2 separate regions of the Homo sapiens genome follow, and region 2 is linked to region 1. The links are contacts of gene promoters, found by promoter capture Hi-C in blood cells and fetal thymus (Javierre and others, 2016). All regions are on one chromosome and are shown on one strand. The core of a region is centred on a gene start or on the middle of the fragment in contact, and the rest is flanking DNA. Distances in the headings are between cores, read along the strand shown. Region 1 holds the start of ZNF222 (zinc finger protein 222). Region 2 overlaps ZNF529 (zinc finger protein 529).

Region 1 (4,044 bases), core at 1,160-3,659:
AAACCAAGAGTTGGTTATTTTCATAAGAAAATTATGAAAACTTCAGTGAGATTGAATAAAAAATGAAGACAGAAGGCTCAAGAAACTAAATCAGAAACAAGAGGGGACATTATTACCAATTTTTACAGAAATAAAGATGATTGTAATAGAATACTATATACAATTGTATGCCAAGAATTTGTATAACTAGATGAAATAGACAAATTCCTTAAAGCATACACCTTACCAAATCTGAATTATGAAGACAAAAAAATCTGAGTAGACCTCTAACTAGTAAGGAGATTGAATCAGTAATCCAAAACCTCCCAATGTAGAAAAGCCCAGGATCAGATGGCTTCACTGGCAAACGCTTCAACACATTTAAGGAACATTTAACACCATAGCTGCTCAACCTCTTCCCAAAAATGCAAGAAGAGAGAACACTTCTTTGATCCTTCTGTCAGGTCAGTATTACCCTGATGCCAAACCAGAAAAAGACAATTCAATAAAATTATACACCAATATCCCTTATGAATACTGATGCAAGAATTCACCAGCAAAATACCAGCAAGATCCAGCAGCATATTAAAAGGATTACACTTAGTGACCGAACTGTTTTATTCCTGGAAGGCGAATATAATTATGGTTCAACATACAAATATCAATGTAATACTCCACATGAGCAGAGTGGAAGGTATAAATCACATCATGTCAGTGAATGCAGAACATTCAGTTTCACAAAATTCAGCACCTAGCACCTTTTCATGATTGAAATACCAAATAACTAGAAGGAGAATAAACTACCCCAGCAAAATAAAGGCTATATATGGAAATTCTCAGAGCTGATTGTCATACTCAATGGTGAAGGACTGAAAGCTTTTCTTCTAATATCAGGAACACAATGAGTTTTCTCCACTTTTCCCACATTTAGTCAATGTAGTATTGGAAGTTCTATGCAGAACAATTAGATAGAAAAAGAAAATAAAGCTATTAAAATTGGAAACAGAGGTAAAATTGTCTATATGCTAATGACATGTTCTTATATATAAAAATTCTAAAGAATTCACAAGAAAAAAAAACTCTTAGAGCTAGTAAAGTCAGAAAGTTGCAGGAAAAATATCTACATAGAAGAAGCAGTTGTATTTCTATACAAAAACAATTAATCTGAAAAGGAAAATAGTTCCCTTTGCAATAGCATTAAATAAATAAATTACTTAGGAACTGTCTTAACCAATGACAAGAAACACTTGGACACTGAATTTTGCAACATCTTACTAAAGAAAATTAAAGAAGGCACCCCAGGCATGGTGGCTTATGCCTGTAATCCCAGCACTTTGTGAGGCCCAGGCAGGCGAATAACTTGAGGCCAGGAGTTCGAGATCAGCCTGGCCAACCTGGTGAAACCCCTGTCTTCACTAAAAATACAAAAATTGGCCAGGTATGGTGGTACGTGCCTGTAATCCCAGCTACTTGGGAGGCTGAGGCAGGAGAATCGCTTGAACTCAGGAGGCGGAGGTTGCAGTGAGCCAAGATTGTGCCACTGCACTCCAGCTTGGGCGACAGAGTGAGACTCTGTCTCAAAAAAAAAAAAAAAAAAATTAAAGAAGGCGCAAATAAATGGAGATATATCCATTATTAATGGATTGGGCGACTTGATATTGCAAGGCTGTCAATACCTATATCTATAGATTCAATGCAATCCTTAATCACAGTAACATTTTTCTCAGAAATGAAAAAATCCACCTGAGATTCATGTGAAATATCAAGGGACACTCTCTCCCATGGTCATATTTTAGACCTCGTCATTTTCTAGCAAATATTCCTCCATAATAATTTGCAGCACTACTCTCCAACAACTTTGACTTGTATTTCCACCTTGGTCCCACCAGCATGCTAGCATCAGTAATATTAGAACCTCGCCAATACCTACAGTCCACTGAGACGATCACCTTTTTACTCTTTCAACTCCTCGTGTACTCACAGCCTGCCAAGCACATTTCTTGTCAGGAGAGGACAGCTCACTTCTCCTAATGTCTCACTTCCCAAAATTGTGTCCCATGAAAATTTCTAGCTAGATGAAGGCAGAGAAAGAAAATATTTGATTTCTTAGGCTTTATGGAAGCGATAGGAATGGCAATAGTGGTTTGGAATGGAGACTGCACGCACCAGTCAACAGGGTGTGTCCCGAATAAGCAGTGGGTAAAGGACATTTACTGAAATGCTATCTCCAACTCCACTTCAGGAAAGCTTGCTGCAGAGTTAGAGTGATATAGTCCAAATGCTCTGTTTGAGTCGCGGGCCCTTTGTCTCACACGGGCGAGTCCGGGGAATTCTGGGAAGTGGAGTCCACACGCTCTGTGGAGGCTCGAGCACTTCCGGTCCCCAACTGTGACGTTGCTATTTCATTTACCACAGTAGTTTGAGTCATTTCCACATCTTGCGAGTCCTTCCGAACGAGTCTCCTTTCCTTGGGGCTCGCAACCACCCAATGATCGATTCAGGAGAAAAGAAGCCTGGGCGGAGAGCAGAGGTTTGGAGGGGCGCGGGCGGGGATTGCCGTTCCAGTCAGCTGAGCCTTCTGGCGTCGGGGGGCTCTGCTAGGGTCTCAGGGAGTGGGATTGGCGCGGCCCGGTGTGCCCTACTTTGACCTCGCTTAGTCCGCCTCCCTCCTCCCTACGTGTGCAGCCCCTTTCAGTGTGGTGTGGAGTGTCACTTAATGTCCGTTTATCTTCCATTGCTGGTTCGTTTGTTTGTTTGTTTTGTAACGGGACTTTTCGGACCATCCTAATGGATTCATTTTGGGACCTGAAAGAGGTAACACAAATGAGAGCCTTAAAAGCAGTCCCTGTCACTCGGTGTCTGGTGGTCTCTTGTTAATTTCCCACGAAGCCTGTCAGGTCCTCTGGTGGGGTCAGAGCTCCAGCTGCAGGGGCGCCGGCCCTTCTGCCTGATCCCTGCAGGACGCTGGATGATCCCTGACGCCTTCTGACCTCTTTTTAGGAAAGTGAGGGGAGCATTTAACTTTTATGGGGGACGGCAAAACGGTCAGGGTGTTTCACAGCTTTCTTTTTCCCCAGCCCGACCTTTCTAAAAGAGCTGCAGGAAGGGACTTCTTGGCTACTGATGGCAAAGCTCTACGTGAGTGATCCTTGGCTTTTTTTCTTTGACAGAGATGCTTACCTCAACCGAGAGTGTGTAGGATTTGTCCCTCGGGCATGGGTGTCGATAATGATTAAGCCTTAATTGGTAACTTTATTCCAAGTACTTTATACCCCAAAATACATGATCTTCACAGTGGCACTGTGGAGAGGTGCTGCTTTTTTCATTTTAAAGATGGGCGTGAGACACAGGTGGAGCAGGAGTTGAAACCTAGGCAGTCCAGGTTAGAGCCTGAGTTGATCATCTCTTGAATGCAATTCTCATTGAGGCAGAGGTACTAGCTGGGAACAGGTGGAGAACGTAAGTTAGGACTTGATTGAAGGCACCTTGAGGCAAGGCTCAGGGGCTTGGACTTCTATAGGAGTTTTTGTTTGTTTGCTTTTTGCTTTTTAATTTTTTTAACCTTATCTACTATTTTCTTTCTCTCTCTCTCTCTATATATATATATATTTTTTTTTTTACAGAGTTTCGCTCTTGTTGCTTAGGCTGGAGTGCAGTGGTGCAATCTTGGCTCACTGTAACCTCCGCCTCTCGGGTTCAAGTGATTCTCCTGCCTCAGTCTCATTTTCGTCAAAGGGCCCGCGACTCAAACAGAGCATTTGGACTATATCACTCTAACTCTGCAGCAAGCTTTCCTGAAGTGGAGTTAGAGATAGCATCTCAGTAAATGTCCTTTACCCACTATTTATTCAGGACACACCCTGTTGACTGGTGTGTGCAGTCTCCATTCCAAACCCCTATTGCCTAATCAGTCATTGTCAGGACACAAACAGAATAAGTAGGAAATCTATAAGCTGACCTATGTCTCTCAAGATCCAAAACAACTTTACACTTGTCCCTTGTGCCAGTGCAATGCTGCTGTCTCCCAATAGTCTTTGGCCGTAAGATTGAGGTGACATCTGCTTG
Region 2 (3,929 bases), core at 1,254-3,753, 7.5 Mb before region 1:
CATGAGGTCAGGAGTTCGAGACAAGCCTGGCCAACATGGTGAAACCCCATCTCTACTAAAAATACAAAAATTAGCTGGGAATGGTGGCACATGCCTATAATCCCAGCTACTTGGGAGGCTGATGTAGGAGAATTGCTTGACCCCAGAGGCGGAGGTTGCAGTGAGCAGAGATTGTGCCACCGCTCTCATGCCTGGGCGACAGAGTGAGACTCTGTCTCAAAAAAAAGAAAGAAAAGAAAACAACGATAAAGGTACCTAAATAGGCAAATACAAAAGTCTATTGCATCTTGGGCTTGCAGGTCCTCTTTATTTCCCCAATATGATTTAAAAGACTAACGTGTAAAACAGTCATTATAAACCAATGTTAAAGAGCACACAATGTATAAAAATGTAATCTGTGACAAAACAACATGAAGAGGAGCAGAACTGTATAGGAACAGAGTTTTGGATATAGTATTAAAGCTAAGGAGTATGCAGCACAGTTTTGATTCAACAGGTCTGGAATTTTGTTTGTTTGAGACAGGGTCTCACTCTTTTGCCCCGGCTGGAGTGCAGTAGTGTCTGGAATGTTTAAACCCTGCCTATTCCAAAGAAAGTTGTAGCCCTTGACTAACACCTAGAAGATAAATTCTGGCCCCGGAATAGCCAGCTTTCATTAATTTTAATGTGATCCTTTCACTAGTGGGAAAACAACAACAACAACACTTTTCTGAGTTGTGTGAGTCCATCTAGCAGTCAGTGAACCTGAAAGTGGTCTTGGAGTTCCATGACCAAAGTCTATAAATTCAAACCAGTTATTTGTAAATGTAAAATATTCACTGTAATCTTCAGAACACATGCTAAGAAAACAATCAGCTTATATAAAAGAAATGACAAGGGAATTAAAATGGTACAGTACAATAAGTTAATTAAAACCAAAAGAAAGCCAGGTGTAGTGGCTCATACCACTTATCCCAACACTTTTGGGAAGCTGAGGCAGGCAGATCGCTTGAGCCCAGGAGTTCAAGACCAGCTTGGCCAACATGGTGAAACCTTGTCTCTACCAAAAATACAAAAAATTAGCCAGGCATGGTGGTGCTCACCTGTGGTCCTAGCTGTTGGGGAGGTGGGGGGCGGGGGTGTGTGAGGGCTGGGGCTGGGGTAGGAGGATCACTTGAGCCCAGGCAGTTGAGGCTGCAGTGAGTTGCGATTGCACCACTGAACTCCAGCCTGGGTGATGGAATGATACCTTGTCTCAAAAAAATAATAAAAAAAAGGGCCAGGCCTGGTGGCTTATGCCTGTAATCCCAGCACTTTGGGAGGCCAAGACAGGTACATCACCTGAGGTCGGGAGTTTCAGACCAGCCCGGCCAATATGGTAAAATCCCATCTCTACTAAAAATACAAAAATTAGCCTGGTGTGGTGGCAGGCACCTGTAGTCTCAGCTACTTGGGAGGCTAAGGCAGGAGAAGCGCTGGAAGGAGGCAGAGGTTGCAGTGAGCCGAGATCGCGCCACTGCATTCCAGCCTGGGCAACAGAGCGAGACTGTCTCCAAAAAAAAAAAAAAATTCATATGACATTGCAACAGATTCAGCCAAAACAAAGCTGGAAGACTGATATTTCCCAATTCAGAACTGACTATAAAACCACAATAATCAAGACTGTGGGGCACGGAATATGGATAGATATATTCATCAATGGAATAGAACTGAGTGAAAATTTAAACCAGTGTAGCTAGGGTCAAGTGATTTTTGACAAGGGTGCCAATCTAATGAAATAGAGGAAAGAACAGTCTTTTCAACAAATGGTGCCAGAAAAATTGAATATCCACATGCAAAAGAATGAAATTGCATCACTCCTTAATAACACATAAAAAAAGTAACTGAAAACAGATCAATGACCCAAATATAAGAGCTAAAACTATAAAACTCTTAGAAGGAAATGTAGGGGTAAGTCATCATGAACTTATATTTGGCAATGGATTCTTTTTTTTTTGAGATGGAGTCTCACTCTGTCACCCAGAGTGGGGTGCAGTGGCGCCATCTCGGCTCACTGCAACCTCCACCTCCCAGGTTCAAGTGATTCTCCTGCCTCAGCCTCCTCCTGAGTAGCTGGGATTACAGGTGCCTGCCACCATGCCTGGCTAATTTTTGTATTTTTAGTAGGAGACGGGGTTTCACCATGCTGGCCAGGCTGGTTTCAAACTCCTGACCTCAAGTGATCCACCCATATCTGCCTCCCAAAGTGCTGGGATTACAGTCTGAGCCACTGCATCTGGCCTATATTTGGCAATGGATTCTTAAATGATGACACCAAAAGGATAAGCAGCAAAAGAAAATTTTGATGAATTAGGATGTATCAAAACTAAAAGCTTTTGTGCATCAAAAAATCATTATAGAAGAAACTGATAAGACAGCCTGCACGATGTGAAAAAATATCTGCAAATCATATATCTCATGAGCATTTAACATCCAGAATATATAAAAACTCCTACAACTCAGCCCAACAAAAAGACAAACAGCCCAAGTTAAAAGCTGGCAAAAGACTTCAGTAGACATTTCTTCATAAAAGATGAACAAATGGTCAACAAGTACATGGAAAGATGCTGAAAATCATTAGACAATAGGAAAATAATAACAGAACCATGAGAATAACATCAGCAAGATGGCAGCTGAGGAAGCTTCAATTCCCTATTCTCTATTGAAACACTTAAAAAACAACTAGAGACTAGCTAAAATATCTTTGTAAGGGTCTGGAAATCACTCAAAGACTGTAACTATCAAACAAATGCCCAGTCAGGAGAAAGTCACATTCAAAATGGTAGTGAATTTGTTGATTATGTTACTTGTGCTCTTACTCCATCTCTAGTGCAGCATGGAAGAAGCAGCCCAGTTCCCATTTCCCTCCTTCAGGCCAGAAGGAACAAAGCAGAGCTTATTTGGAACATGCTAATCTGTCTGTGGGCTCCTTGAGGTACTGAGGTACTGGTTTCTGTTTTATCTGATTTTCTTTCTTTTTTTTTTTTTTTTACACAGAGTCTCACTTTGTCATCTAGGCTGGAGTGCAGTGGCATGATCTCGGCTCACTGCAACCTCTGCCTCCCAGGTTCAAGCAATTCTCCTGCCTCAGCCTCCTGTGCAGCTGGGATTACAGGTGCACACCACCACGCCTGGCAAATTTTTGTACTTTTAATAGAGACAGGGTTTCACTATGTTGGCCAGGCTGGTCTCGAAGTCCTAACCTCAAGTGATCTGCCTGCCTTGGCCTCCCAAAGTGCTGGGATTACAGGTGTGAGCCACTCTGACTTTTGAGTTTCAACATGTAAAAGGCTGCACAGCTCAGATCTCAGGCAGGTAAAGGCCACAAAGGACAGTGGTGGGCACTGTGGTGCATCAAAGCTAAAACACTATTAAAACTAGAAATAAGTGCAGCAGCACTGCAGGATATAAGATCAGTATGCAAAACTCAATGATATTTTAATTGCCTGGACACCTGTGGATACTTGGAGCAAACGATTACAGGTGGAAAAATATAACATCTAGGGCCTAAGAAGCAAGGGTGAGACCCTATGAAATTAAGGCATTTGAAAGCAGCTATGCATATTAGGGAAACTGGTAAAAGCATATACACAGGTATAGGCACAGGCATGCTACAGACCCAGGAAAAACGTAAGACCTTAGACTTTCACCCTGAGATGATCCCAAGGCCCTAATTAGTGAAGATCTCCAACGGTCTGCAAAAATTAGGAGAAGTAGCTGTTTCTTCAAATGCCCAGTTTTCAACAAAAGACTGCAAGGCATACAAAGACACAGGAAAACAGGGTCCAATCAAAGGAGCAAAATAAATTACACTTGAAGAAACAAAAGCATTGGAGTAACTAGAAAAAGGCTTTGTAAAAACTGTCTTAAATATGCTCATAGAGCTAAAGGAAAACAGAGAAAGAACTAAA

What was found. The method cuts DNA at HindIII sites, captures the fragments that hold promoters and counts their contacts. A CHiCAGO score of 5 or more calls a contact.
Region 2: a contact is called between a fragment that was not itself captured here and the fragment with the promoter of ZNF222 in region 1, in 1 of 17 cell types (total CD4 T cells). The highest score is 5.4, in total CD4 T cells.

The regions. Positions count from the first base shown.
Region 1 is chr19:44,022,970-44,027,013 of GRCh38, forward strand. It overlaps ZNF222 (zinc finger protein 222), which reads left to right and starts at 2,410. Exons shown (of 4, transcript NM_001129996.2): 1 at 2,410-2,509. The coding sequence starts at 2,468. It overlaps ZNF222-DT (ZNF222 divergent transcript), which reads right to left and starts at 2,313. Exons shown (of 3, transcript NR_184028.1): 1 at 2,146-2,313; 2 at 1,929-2,050; 3 at 1-930. RefSeq lists enhancers at 2,376-2,425, 2,656-2,705. The HindIII fragment of the contact is 1,542 bases long and covers 2,225-3,766 here.
Region 2 is chr19:36,565,482-36,569,410 of GRCh38, forward strand. All of the region lies in intron 2 of ZNF529 (zinc finger protein 529), which reads right to left. Among named protein-coding and RNA genes, the nearest start is that of ZNF529, 5.8 kb to the right of the region's middle. The HindIII fragment of the contact is 309 bases long and covers 2,350-2,658 here.